Linked DNA regions of Homo sapiens: region 2 is linked to region 1. Evidence: promoter capture Hi-C in 16 types of primary human blood cells and fetal thymus (Javierre and others, 2016). All regions are on one chromosome and are shown on one strand. Each heading gives the region's core, a stretch centred on a gene start or on the middle of the fragment in contact. The rest is flanking DNA. Distances are from core to core; before and after follow the strand shown. Region 1 holds the start of SEMG1 (semenogelin 1). Region 2 holds the start of WFDC13 (WAP four-disulfide core domain 13).

Region 1 (7,011 bases), core at 105-2,604:
ATTTTCTCCATAGTGGAGTCGTCTTTCTTCCGTACTTGAAGATTGGTATGATATTTTATTTGCCTTTTGGCTATGCTCTTGCTCTTGACTGGGAATTGTTATCTGTTTTTGAGACTTGCCCTGTGCTTTCTCTTCAGTTTGGCTATAAATACTGCTTTGGGATACATCTTTCTGCACACCATTTTCTCCATAGTGGAGTCGTCTTTCTTCTGTACTTGAAGATTGGTATGATATTTTATTTGCCTTTCGGCCATGCTGTTGATCTTGATTGAGATTTTTTGTCTGGTGTTGATTCTTGTTATATACTAGGAGCTCATCTTGGGTAGAAAAAATGTCTTTGGATCCATGTTGGAGTTTGTCTTGGTGCGCAGGACAGAGTGAGGTTTGTACTTTACTTGAATGTTCCTCTCTCACTTCAACCACATTTTGGTAATGCCCTTTATTTTGATGAGAATTTTTAGTCTCACGTTGTTGTTTGTTAGCTACTAGCTCTTCAGTTTGGAGAACATAACTGCTTTGGGATCCGCCTTGTTTTCTACCTTTTTGTGCACCAGAGACGGAAGTTTGTTCTTTACTTAGTCCATGAACCCACAGCCTTTCTTCTGTGTTTGAATATTGACTGGATATTCCCTTTCCAGATGGGCTATTCCCCTGATCTTGAGAAGGATTTTGTGTCCCACGATGAGCTTTGCCTCCTTTATGGTGTATAACTACCCTGTGAAAATGACCTTTTGATTTATCATGGTCTCTGCCTTCTTGTTTATTATGGAGCAGTTGTTGACTTCCACCTAGATGTCGTTGTGATTTTGTCGTCTTATGTAGGGCATTCAAATCATATTGCTGACTTTTTCGGGACTGGTCATGATCATTGGCATCTACATGATATGTGTATTGAATAGAAAAACTGCCTTTGGATTCAGTTTGTTGCTTGCCTTTTTGTCCAGAATAGTGCTGGCCCTTTTGTCCGTGTGGAAATTGGGAAAATTCACTTGGTAATCGGCCTTTTGATCCACCTGGTAATTGATAATAAGAAGGTATGCATTCATTATCTCCAAAGCTCCCTTACAACTCTTACCCCCCACTTTTCCCCCAACAAATTATTGATATTTCTAGAAAAGCTGAAGCTTTGGGTGGAGAAAATCAATTCTCTTCAAAGAGAAGAATCTGTGCCTAAACAGGTTACTGTTTGCACCCCAAATAATCTTAGATTATTAGCTGTCTGAGCAGCTTTCCCCAAGGCTTACCCTCTCCACTCACCTTTTTGTCCCATCACAGCTGCTTGCTTCTCCAAGATGAGGAGCAGGGAAAGTACAAAGATGATGTTGGGCTTCATCTTGCTTGGAAAACCTTGTCTGAGAGCTGAGCCGACCTTGTCATTTATATCTTCCTTGAGTGAGTGTGCCATGGGTGGAGCTTAAATTACAAAAGGCACTGACTTTTCTTAGCTTATCAGTAAATGCCAACTTCCTCACCCCTGCTGAGTGTGGGACAAAGTCAATGTCCCCAGCAACATAATGTCAAAGGCATTTTCTTTCTTCTGGCAGCCCCAGCAAATTTTTATCAGTCCTTTTAGATCATCATGCCAGATCACTTTAATTTTACAGAATTATAGACAAAAGTAGGAAAGAGACTGGCTTCAGGCTACAAAAGCAATTGGTTTCTGAGAATGCCTTTATATTCTAAATGTGAGTTTCCCTTCATGATGCAATAATTTAAATACTCTATTTTAGATAGAACTCCATACTTCCTTTTGTTTTAAAAATGATCTTGAGACACGTTCTATTTTACCTAAGAATGAGCAATCATAGAAGTCCAATGATATAGAAGATAATGAAACGTTATGGAATCCAAAGAAAGAAATTTTAAACAAGTAAATGGGGCACTCCAATGTCAAATATGTCTGTCAAGTTCAACACAATAAAGACTGACATGTATCCAAAGTTTTTCTTAGTTGTTGCTAGTAACTTTAATGAGAGATGAATACAATTGCATTGGGTTGTCAGTTGAAGGATGGAGACCAGCTGCAACCTTCTCAGGAAGTCTGAATTCATGGTGGAGTGAGAGCTGAGGCTGTATCTGGAGGGTGAGGTAAGTTCCAGATGTGTTTTCAAAGGATGAAAGAATTTTAATATGCTTTCATGGTGATAGGAACAACTGTTGGAAAAAAAGTAAAAATGCTGGTTTCTAGATTGGGTTCTTTTCATGAAATCTACCTAAACAGCAGAATTTTCTTTTTAATTAAGAGAAGTTTCTACTTCAGTAGTAAACAGCTGAATCCCCAAACAGGCTGTGAGAAATATTTGCCACCATCAATGAATTGAATAATGTATTGTGAGTGGACATGAAGCTAAAATTCCCACCTTTGGTAGAAGCATAGATTTTTCCAATTGTGATGACATCCTGAAAAGTCTGAAGAAACTTTCTTTACTTTGAGTCATAAAGACTTCGTTATGAGCAGACCACAGGAGAAGAAGAAAGCATCCCAACAGTGTCCCTGTGTACATTCAGAACACCTTGGAGGGTAGTGCTGGGGAAAGGATAGCTTGAAAACTTATTTTCAATTATTCTGTCTTAGAATCTTAACCTTCCTGTAGGCAATGCTCTATGGAAGGGGAAAAGAGAAAGGCCAACCACAGAAAAAAAGTGCTATGCTATCAAACATAAATCATGTGAGCTGCATGGTTTCTCTATGAGCCACTCTGAGATCTTACCAAATTTATCTGTTTGCCTCAAAGGCAGTAAGTAGTTCCTTATTGCAGAAACCCCAACAGAGTAAGGTGATATTGTTCTGAACTAAAATTGATTACTGTGTCTGCTAACCACTGTAATCTTCCTCACACTTCCCTTAAGAAAATACCAGAAACTGTTCTGTTCCAAACTTACTGATACAAAATAGAGTCTGAAATATTAATCTTACTTATGGATCAAGAACAAAACTTTCATCTCATCTAGTGTCCAAAAGATGCAGATAAAACAAAAGGGCACAATATTTGCAAAAACAAACCAGGAAAATGCAATCCAAGCAAAACATGTGATTACTATATTCATATTAGAATTGAATTCAATGAAATGTGGAAAAAAACATTTCCAAATGATAAAGGAATGTATTGATAAAGTTGAAATCAGAAATCAGTGATTTGGAAAGCATAAAAATGGTATGGTGATGCATACATCTTAGATATGGAATTATGATGGGGGAAAAGATTAAGTGATCAAATGATTTGTCCTGTTGGACAAATAAAAAATGCAAAAATATTAAAGTGCACTAAATTGGCACAAAAATCTGAAAGTTTTATACTCATAGGAAAAGAAGAAAACAGGAGGACTTAAATGTATTTTGCTCAATTCTATGGGAAATCACTTTACAACTTAGAAAAGATTCAAATATAGTTATTTTTGGGGAATGGGCAGAAAAACCTGGTAGAGTAGGACTCCCCAGAGATTATACCCTCCAAAACGTCGAATTTAATAATTATCCACATATGATAATAGTTTCTCAAAAGCTAAACAGGCCAGATGAGATATTACAGAACCTGATTATAGTATAATAATTAAAAATACACATTGAAGAGGGCACGAAAGACAATTTTGTTTCCTGTATCACCCCTAACCCAATCACAGGCAGCACAGTGCAGAGAGAGCTACTTTCTTTTGGGGGGAAGGGAATGAAGTAAGGCTTGGACTTTTTCACGGAACAAAATACTAGTCTATAATAGTAAAATTCAGCACTGGGAGGACACCCATAGTGACCCTGCTTGAATACCTGTGGCCTAAGCAGCAAGACCTGCCCCAGCAGCAGAGAGGAACACATAGTTCCTGTGAGATAGACTTGCGTTCTTACCTGTACCACTGGCAGCCAACTACAGCAGCCTTGGATTATGAATAACCAACATACGTAGGCAGGTATCAGTGAGGAGGAGTTGGGAATGCATTCCATCATTGTGCCAGCCTCTGCAGCCATGGGTTACAGCCTGGTGCAGAACTGGCCATGGTGGTCCTGGGTTTATGACATCTCCTTGTGCTGCAATGACTGAAACAGTCACAGGCTTACAAACCTAGAACAGATGATCTGCCTAGAATTTCCGGACAGAGTTGAGGGACATTCTCAGACAAAGCCAAACTGGAGTAAGTACCTACCTTAAATTCAATATCTGCATTCAAGTACCTACCTGCAATTCAATAAGTACCTACTTCTTCAATGTGCAGACATCAATGCACAATCACAAGGATCAAGAACAATCGGGGAAAACTGATGACACCAAATTAACAAAATAAGGTACCAAATGAACAAAATAAGATACCATTGATTGGCCCCAAAGACATGGAGATGTATGACCTGCCTGAAAGAGAATTTAAAATGGCTGTTCTAAGGAAGCTCAAAGAACTTTAATAAAATACAGATAAATAATTAAATGAAATGATGAAAACAATAAGTGACCAGAAAGAGAGATGTAACAAAGGGTAAAAATGATAACATTTAATATCTAATGTTAATATAGGAGCTGAAGAATGCAATGAATAAAATGAAAAGTGTGAAAAGTGCAATAGAGTGCATTAACACCAGAAATGATCAAGCAGAAGGAATAATCTGTGAGCTTGAATACAGGTTATTTGACAATATATACTCAGAAAAGGAAAAAAGAAAAAAGAATAGAATGAAGGAAACTTATGAGATGTATGGAATAGCATTAAGTGAGCAAAGGGACAATTTACTGGCATTCAAGAGAAGTTAGAGAAAGATAAATGGAAAAGTAAAGAAAGCTTATTAAATAAGTAATAACAGAAAACTTTCCAAATCTGAGGAGTTCATATATATATATATATATATATATATATATATATATATACACACACACACACACACACATATATACACCCATATATATACATATACATATATACATATATATTATATATATATGTATGTGTCTATTATATATATATATATGTAGTCAAAGTGCAGGATGGTCAACAGTCACCAATCACATTCAATTCAAAAAAGACTAGACATATAATAATTAAACTGTGAAAGATCAAAGACAAATAAATGATACTGAAGCAGCAAAAGAAAAGAAGCAAATAAAATGCAAAACAGTTCCAATACACTTCACATCAGACCTTTTTTTTCTTTTTCAACTGTTATTTTACATTCAGGGGCCAAGTGTGCAAATTTGTTACCTGGGTATATTGCATGATGCTGAAGCTCGGGGTATGAATTTTCCTGTCATTCTGATACTGACTATAATACCCAACATTTAGTTTTTCAACCCTTGTCCCCTTCCCTCCCTCCTTCTCTCCTCTAGTAGTCTTCAGTGTGTATTATTTCCATCTTTATGTTCATGAGTATCTGACATTTAGCTCCCCTCTATAACTGAGAACATGTGGTATATAGTTTTCTCTTCCTGCATTAATCTACTTAGGATAATGGCCTCCCACTGCATCCATGTTGCTGCAAATGCATGATTTTATTTATTTTTTATGACTGTGTAGTATTCCATGGTGTATATACACCATATTTTCTTTATCCAATCCACCATTGATGGGCACCTAAGTCGATTCCATGTTTTTGCTAGTATGAATAGTGCTGCAATCAAATCATATTTCTCAAAGGGAACATTAAAGATCAGAGGAGAGTGGAATAATATTATCAAAGTAATGAAAAAAAAGAAAACCATCCAAGCATACTATACTCAGCAAAGCTGTTCTTCAGAAATGACAGAGAAATGAAAACTTTCCTAGACATACAAAGGTGAGGAAGTATGTCACCATCAGACCTATTTTACAAGAAATGCTAAAGGAGTTCTTCAAGGTGAAAGAAAAGGATGCTAATGAGTAATACAAAATAATCTAAAAGTGTAGAACTCACTAATAAAATTAATTACACAGTCAAAATTCAGAATACTGTGATACTATAATGGTGATGTATAAATCACTTCTATCTTTAGTATGAAGGCTAAAAGATAAAACTTGAAATTAATAATAACTACAATAAATTGTTAATGTATATGGCACATAAAAGCTGTTAATTGTGACATGAAAATATCAAAATGCGGGGAGGGAAGTGGTGGTAAGGTGTAGTTTTATGTTTTGTAATCAAACAAATTATTATCAGGTTAAAATCACTTGTGATAGCTACAGGATTTTTTTTAAAGGCCTCATGTTAGCCACAAAGACAACATTTTTAATAGACGCCCTAAAAATAAAAAATAAGTATCAAAATATACTACTAGAGAAACTAACTTAATCATAGTGGAAGGCAATAAGAGAGAAAGAAAGAAAGAAAGAAAGAATCACCAAAGCAACTAGAAAACAATGAAAAAGTGGCAGTAGTAAGTCCTTACCTATGAATAATTATCTTGAAGGTAAATAAATTCACTAATTAAATGCCTAGAGTGGATGAATGGGAAAAAAATAAGATACATCAATAGGCTTCCTAAAAGAGGCAACCATACTGGTAATTACACACATAGACTGAACGATAATGGATGGAAAAAACATTCCACACAAGTGGAAACCAAAAGAGAGCAGGAGTAGCAACACTTATATCAGATCAAATAGACTTTAAGTCAAAAATGTAAAAAGACATAAAGAAGATCATTATATAATGCTAAAGAGGTCAATTCAGCAAGATAATACAGAAATCGTAAGTACGTATGCACCCCAAATCCAAGCACCTAAAGATATAAAGCAAATATTCTGAAGAGAGATCTCTGCATACAATAATAGTAGGTGTTTTAGGGCATTTAGCATTACTATAAAACAATACCTGAGACTAGAGAATGTATACAGAAAAGAGGTTTGTTTGGCTCAAAGTTCTGCAGGCTAAGATGCCTGGTGCCAGCATCTGCTCAGTTTCTGGTGATGCCACATAAAGTATTTAATCGTGATGGAAGGGATTGGGAGCCAGTGTATCACATGGTGAGAGAGGGAGAAAGAAAGATGCCAGGGTCTTTTAAACAAGCAGTCTTCATGTGAACTAAGAGAGTGAGAACTCACTCATTACTGCGGGGA
Region 2 (6,518 bases), core at 1,326-3,825, 500 kb before region 1:
ATATGAGATATCTCTTACCTGTTGCGCTTTTGAAATGTTTCTGATGAACAGACTATCCCACAGAAGGAGGAACAGCACTGAAATCCTTTCTCGCAATCTTCCTGCATTGTACACAGGTGAGTACAGTTTTCAGGTGCTGATATGCAGGGTGGAGGTTCCAAGATATACTCTGGAACACAGAACAAGTAAGAGAAGGGCCTCACCAACAGGCTGGAGTAATGTTCAGAACTCAGAAAGCCCAGGGAACTGCCAGGAAACCTGCCACCCTCATCTGCCTTGCATGGTTCCAGGGTGGTGGCATCAGGTTTTGTCCTCAGCTGCTGCCTTCCTCTGAGTTCTGAGCAGGGAAGCAGGGCATGGATATTTTTTGATCAAGAACAGAGTTTGGTAGAACCCTGCACCCATTGGTCATTCACCATCCTTGTAGTTCAGATGCCAAGCCCCCATTGACTATGGTTGTGTCCATATCAAGGGTATCAATGGTGTATGTGGTGAACAAGAAAGAGGTTTGTATGTTCGTTCTGCACTGATTCATTGTGTGGTCTTGAGCAAGTTGTAGAGCTTCTCATTAACAACATAGTTTACCCTGGGGTTAACCTAACATGGGTTATTTGTGTACAGGAAGAATGAGTGAAAGGTAAGTTTTGGTAAAGGATGAAGACCATGCATTAAACTGAAGGTACTGGATCAGAGAGCTGGGACCCAATTCACAAGTAAGTTCTGGGAGTGACTTCTTTCATGGTAAGAAGGGTGGGGATTTCAGAATGGCGTTCAAAGATTCAGCTTTTTTCTTCCTTGGTGTCTCTCGATCAGGAGGCCAGAGCACCAGGATGCCCCACTTTCTACTGTTAGAGAAGAATAAGCATCATTATGTTGACTTCCTATTTCCTCCCCTACCCCCAAGTATTTCAGTTCAAAGCTAAGACCTACCTGCCCTGGGAGAGTCTTCCCTAAGTCCACAACCCACAATCTCCTTTCTATTCCTGGACTCTAAAGATGGGCCCCATTAATCCCTTTCCCCAAGCCCTTCCAGGTCCTAATTTTTGTACCTTGTGATTCTCCCTTTCTTTGGGGGCAAAAGTCAAAAGTGGGGCATTCTATTGCAAATAGAGGAATTGTGGGTCTATTCCTCTGCAAATATTTGCAATTAGAAGGAAATCTATAGGATATTATGATGATTTGAAAGGAATGAATGAAGAAAGAGGTCATGACTATAACTGTAGTAGCAAATGGCACCAGAATTGGGGTAAAAGAAGCTGAGGTTCAAGCTGTTGACAATTTAACAGAGACCAATAACTAGTACTCACCCCTGGCCTCTCAGCTATTCTATAGCTCACTGGGGCACTGCAAGAAATTGGAACTAATCCACACTTTGAAGAGCTTGGGGCTCAACAGAGCAGTTTAGAGATAGACACCATGATCCAGAGATCTCAGAGAGGTCACCCTTTTCAAGTCTTGACCCCTCTTCTGGGTATCTGGTCCCAACTTCACTCACAGCATTTACCAGTCTTTTAGAAAGCCTCTTTGTGCCTTTCCTCAAATTCTGATTCTCCAATTAACTCTACCCTGGGCACTCCTATTTTCTTGTAGCTTGCTTAGTCCCTCTTAGTCCTACAAACCTGCATGCCTTTTCTGAAACTTCTTAAGCAGGACCTAGCCTCCCCAGACACATGAGCTACCACACTTATCCCTCTTCTGAGCCGCCAGTATTCTGAAGATGTTTTCCCCATAGAAGAGTGGATGTATGATGAATAACAGTTCTTTTCCCACTTGGTATTGGTTAAGGTCAACATTACTAGAGCCAGAGCTCTTTTGAGTTGAGCTGGGCAGTGGTGGCTGCTGAGATGGACTCTACACTGTCCCATTGATGCTAATTACCGGTAATTGTACAGTACCTCTGGAGTTTGAAAATGTGGAATAAAAGGCAAGACTTCCTTTCCCTCCTTCCCAAAACATCCTCCAAGGCCAAGGTTATGTAGATTCTAGCTTGAGTTCTACCAACTTCGTTGTCTCTCTGTTTTATTGCTTGAAAAGTGAGTCCAAGCATCCATGAAGGAGCCACGGGCAGCAAGACTAAGCTGGATGATGAGGCTGATCACATTTACAGCATTTAATATTACTGAGCATTTACCATGGTTTAGTAAGAGTGAGCTATGTCTGCATGCATTATCTGTTCTCCTCCTGTATTCATTATAAGGATAAAAACCTGAGGCCCAGATACTATGCCCAAGGTCACTCAGCAACAGAGCAGGGATTCAAACCTAGATCTTGCCAACAATAAAGCTTGGGCCCTTGAACATGACACGGTATTTTTCCAAGAGGTGTGACAGACTGTCAGCCCTCAGATCCTCTCCTATCCACACATGTTACTTCCCTCCTTGGGCCCAGATCCAGCACCTACTCAGAACACGCTGCTTGGGACTCCCAGGCACCAGCTGCAGTGCTAGGCAGAACACCACCAGGAACTGGAGAGGCAGCACAGGCTTCATGGTGTCAGTGGGATGGGTGAGTAAGTTCTGGCCAAGGGTTGCTGGGTTTGACCAGGCACTGCTGTGAGGAGAAGAGAAGGAAAGAGGGCAAAGTGGAGGCCCAGTGTGACTAGCCTTTCACCGTGTACTCCAATCAAAACCGGCAGGGCAGGAATCCAAGCACCTCCCAATCACACCCACTCCAGGGTCACGTAGTGTTTTCATATCCTCCTTTATTCCCCTAATCTTGACCTTGCTATCTCTTTCATCTGTATCTAGATCTTATTCATGTCCCTTAACATTTTTTTATAATTTTCCCCTGTGGAAATTGTACATGTTATATTTATTCACAGAGGATTGAATTTTTTTTTTTTTTTTTTGAGATGATGGAGTCTGGCTCTGTCACCCAGGCTGGAGTGCAGTGGTGCGATCTCTGCTCACTGCAGCCTCTTCCTCCCAGGTTCAAGCAATTCTTGTGTCTCAGACTCCTGAGTTGCTGGGATTACAGGCGTGTACCACCATGTCCAGCTAATTTTTGTATTTTTAGTAGAGATGGGGTTTCACTGTGTTATCCAGGCTAGTCTTGAACTCCTGACCTCAGGTGATCTGCCCTCCTCAGCCTCTCAAAGTGCTAGGATTACAGGTGTGAGCCACCGCGCCTGGTCTGAGGCTTGAAGTTTTTAAAAGGAAATTGTAAATGTTATCATAACTTTTCAACTAATTCCTTTTGTTTACTGCTAATGTAGAGAAGTTAACTTTCCAGTTTGCTCAAAAATCTCCACCATGACAATTATTTGACCTCACTGAAACCAATAAACATTGACTCTTCACTTCCCTATTTCGTAGTCCTCCCCTATAGGCGTTTACTTTTCTTTCTATCAATGTAGGACTCAGAACCTGTCATTTAAATCTCCTTGCTTGAATCTACCTACAAAAACTGCAACCCTGAATGAATCCAACCATCAATTTCATTGAAGCTTGAACCTAGGCAGATAATTGTTGCTGGGGGAAAATAACTCAACTGGGCTACTAAACAGCACAATAGATGCACCATCACCAAACCAAAAAGGGTCTGGCAATCTTACTAAGTTTCTTCAGTAAGCCAGTGTTCCCACTTTCTACAAATACTATTTCAAACTTGCTTTCCTCTCTTTAAAGCTTGGATCTTTTCTTCTTTCCACAAATTTGTAACTAGTTAGCTTGCTAAATTCTCCCATTGTTTATTATGGTTTCTTTGTGTGTTCTCTTCAGTGTTTATCATAGGCAAATAAGCAGTTATAGTTTTCTTCTTCAAACTTTATGCCATTTTTAATGCCTCACTGTGCTCGCTAGGCCCTTGAGTACATCATATGTAAGTGGTGATAGTGTGTATTTTTGTCTGATACCTGATTTAAAATGAAAACTTCTTGTTTCCCCTTTTAGAATTGTCTCCACTTTAGGTTTCTCATAAGTACCCTCTATCAGGTTTAGAAATTTTTCTTTCATTCCTAACAAGAAATTTTAAATTAGTTTATGTCAGATTATATGTATTGCTTTTTTCTATGTATATTGAGATGATAACATTTTTATATCCTTTAATCTGTTAATGCAGTGAACATTCAGATTTTCAAACATTAAGCCATTTCTATGGTAATATAAGGTGATCATTGAATATTATCATTTTTATATTGTTTGGTTTAGTTTGCTATTTTTAAGGTATTTTACATCTATGTTCATAATGAACTGGGCCTGTAACTTGTCTTTCTCATATTGTCCTTGCTTGGTTTCATAGCAAGTTTATGCTGACTTCATAGGATGTGCTGAGTAGCAGCCCTTCTTTATCAATTCTCTATAAATTCTTGATTTAAGATAATTAGTTACTTGAACTCTCAACTCTGTTTTTCTTGCACGAATATACCCATTTGCACCTTGTTGTTTTCATTTAACAATATATCCTGAAAACTGCTCTCCAGTAGTTCATAACAATTTTTCCTCTATTACAGCTGCATTTGACATACACCTTAGTCATATAGCCAGTCTCCTATATTTGGGCATTTAGGTAGTTTCCAAGATTTTGCTATTATAAATAATGCTGCAATGAACAATTATGCATAATTTTCTGTATTGTTGGAGGTATAATATCAGTAAATTTCTAAAAGTGTGATCATTGGTTAAAAGGATAAATGCACGGCTGGGTGCGGTGGCTCACGCCTGTAATCCCAGCACTTTGGGAGGCTGAGGAGGGCAGATCATGATGTCAGGAGTTCGAGACCAGCCTGGTCAACATGGTGAAACCCCATCTCTACTAAAAATACAAAAATTAGATGGGCGTGGTGGCACATGCCTGTAGTCCCAGCTACTCAGGAGGCTGAGGCAGAAGAATCGCTTGAACCCGGGAGGCAGAGGTTGCAGTGAGCCAAGATCAAGCCACTGCACTCCAGCCTGGGTGACAGAGCTAGACTTTGTCTCAAAAGAGAAAAAAGAGGATAAATGCACATATAGTTTGGCTAGATATTGCCGATTTCTACTTCATAAAGATTATACCTTTTTGTAATGCCACCAACAATGTGACTGTGCACGTTTCCTACAGTCTCACTAACAGAACGTGTTGTCATGCTTTTGAATTTTTTCCAAAACAATTGGGTAGGAAATGTTATTTCTGTAGTTTTTGAGGTTCATTTACTATGTAGCATGCACCAGTACTTCATTCCATTTTATGGGTGAATAATACTCCATTGTATATATATATATCACAATTGTTTATCCATTCATCTGTTGATGGACATTTCAGCTGTTTCCTTGCTTTGGCAATTGCAAATAATGCAGCTATGAACATTTGTAGATGAATATTTTTTTGAGTATATATTTTTAACTCATTTGGGTAAATATTTGGGAGTAGAACTGCTGGGTCATATGTTTAACTTTGTATGTTTACTTTTTTGAGGAAACTCCAAACTCTTCCCACAGCGGCTGAACAATTTAATACTTCTATCAGCTATGCACGAGGGTTCCAATTTCTCCACATGCTTGTCAGCACTTATTATTTTCCTTTTTAGAAATTATAGCCAGTCAAAAAATGTGAAGTGGTATCTCATGGTTTTTATTTGTATTTCCCTAATAACTAATGATGTTGAGCATTTCTTTCTTCTTCTTCTTCCCCCTCCCCCTCCTTCTCCTCCTTCTTCTTTTTTTTTTTTTTAGATGGATTCTCACTCTGTCGCCCAGGCTGGAGTGCAGTGGTGTGATCTCAGCTCACTGCAACCTCCACCTCCTGGGTTCAAGCGATTCTCCTGCCTCAGCCTCCTGAGTAGCTGGGATTACAGGCGCCTGCCACCCACACCTGACAAATTTTTGTATTTTTAGTAGAGACAGGGTTTCACCATGTTGGCGAGGCTGGTCTTGGACTCCTGACCTCAGGTGATCCACCTGCTTTGGCCTCCCGAAGTGCTGGGATTACAGGCATGAGCCACCGTGCCCAGCCGATATTGAGCATATTTTCATGTGCTTGTTGGTCATTTTTATATTTTCTTTGAAGAAATGTATATTCAAGTCCTTTGCCCATTTTGTAATTGGGTTTTTTTTTTTTTTTCTTCTTGAGTCATAAGAGTTCTTTAATATATTCTGGATACTCACCAGATAGATGATTTTTTCAAATATTTTCTCCCATTCCATAGGCTGTCTTTTCACTTTTTTGATAGTCATTTGAGGCACAAAAATTTTTAACTTTGATGAAGTCCGATTTTTTTTTCTTTTGTTACTGTGCTTTTGGTGTCTTTTCTAAGAATCCATTGCCCAATCCATAGTCATGAAGATTTACTTCTACATTTCTTCTAAGAATTCTGTAGCTTTTATATTTAAATCATTGGCTTATTTTTGAATCAGGAAGTGTGAATTCTACTTTTTGAAGACTGCTTTGGCTATCCAAAGCCTTGGCTTCGGTTCAGCCTTGCTGGGAAAAACATGCAACTGGCTGGGTCACACAGCCAACAAGGCACTCTCTGTTTTTCACTCAGAACGCACAAAATGGGGGAAATGGGAGACCCTACAAAGTACAACAATGAAAAGGCAGTT

Evidence for each region. Contacts are between HindIII fragments. The CHiCAGO score rates a contact against its expected background, and 5 or more counts as called.
Region 2: a contact is called between the fragment with the promoter of WFDC13 here and the fragment with the promoter of SEMG1 in region 1, in 11 of 17 cell types (M1 macrophages, M2 macrophages, M0 macrophages and 8 more). The highest score is 13.6, in M1 macrophages.

What each region holds. Positions count from the first base shown.
Region 1 is chr20:45,201,376-45,208,386 of GRCh38, reverse strand. It overlaps SEMG1 (semenogelin 1), which reads right to left and starts at 1,354. Exons shown (of 3, transcript NM_003007.5): 1 at 1,258-1,354; 2 at 1-1,013. The coding sequence starts at 1,333. The HindIII fragment of the contact is 3,637 bases long and covers 1,127-4,763 here.
Region 2 is chr20:45,698,095-45,704,612 of GRCh38, reverse strand. It overlaps WFDC13 (WAP four-disulfide core domain 13), which reads right to left and starts at 2,575. Exons shown (of 4, transcript NM_172005.2): 1 at 2,402-2,575; 2 at 19-169. The coding sequence starts at 2,489. It overlaps WFDC10B (WAP four-disulfide core domain 10B), which reads left to right. Exons shown (of 4, transcript NM_172006.2): 2 at 52-116. The HindIII fragment of the contact is 1,162 bases long and covers 2,286-3,447 here.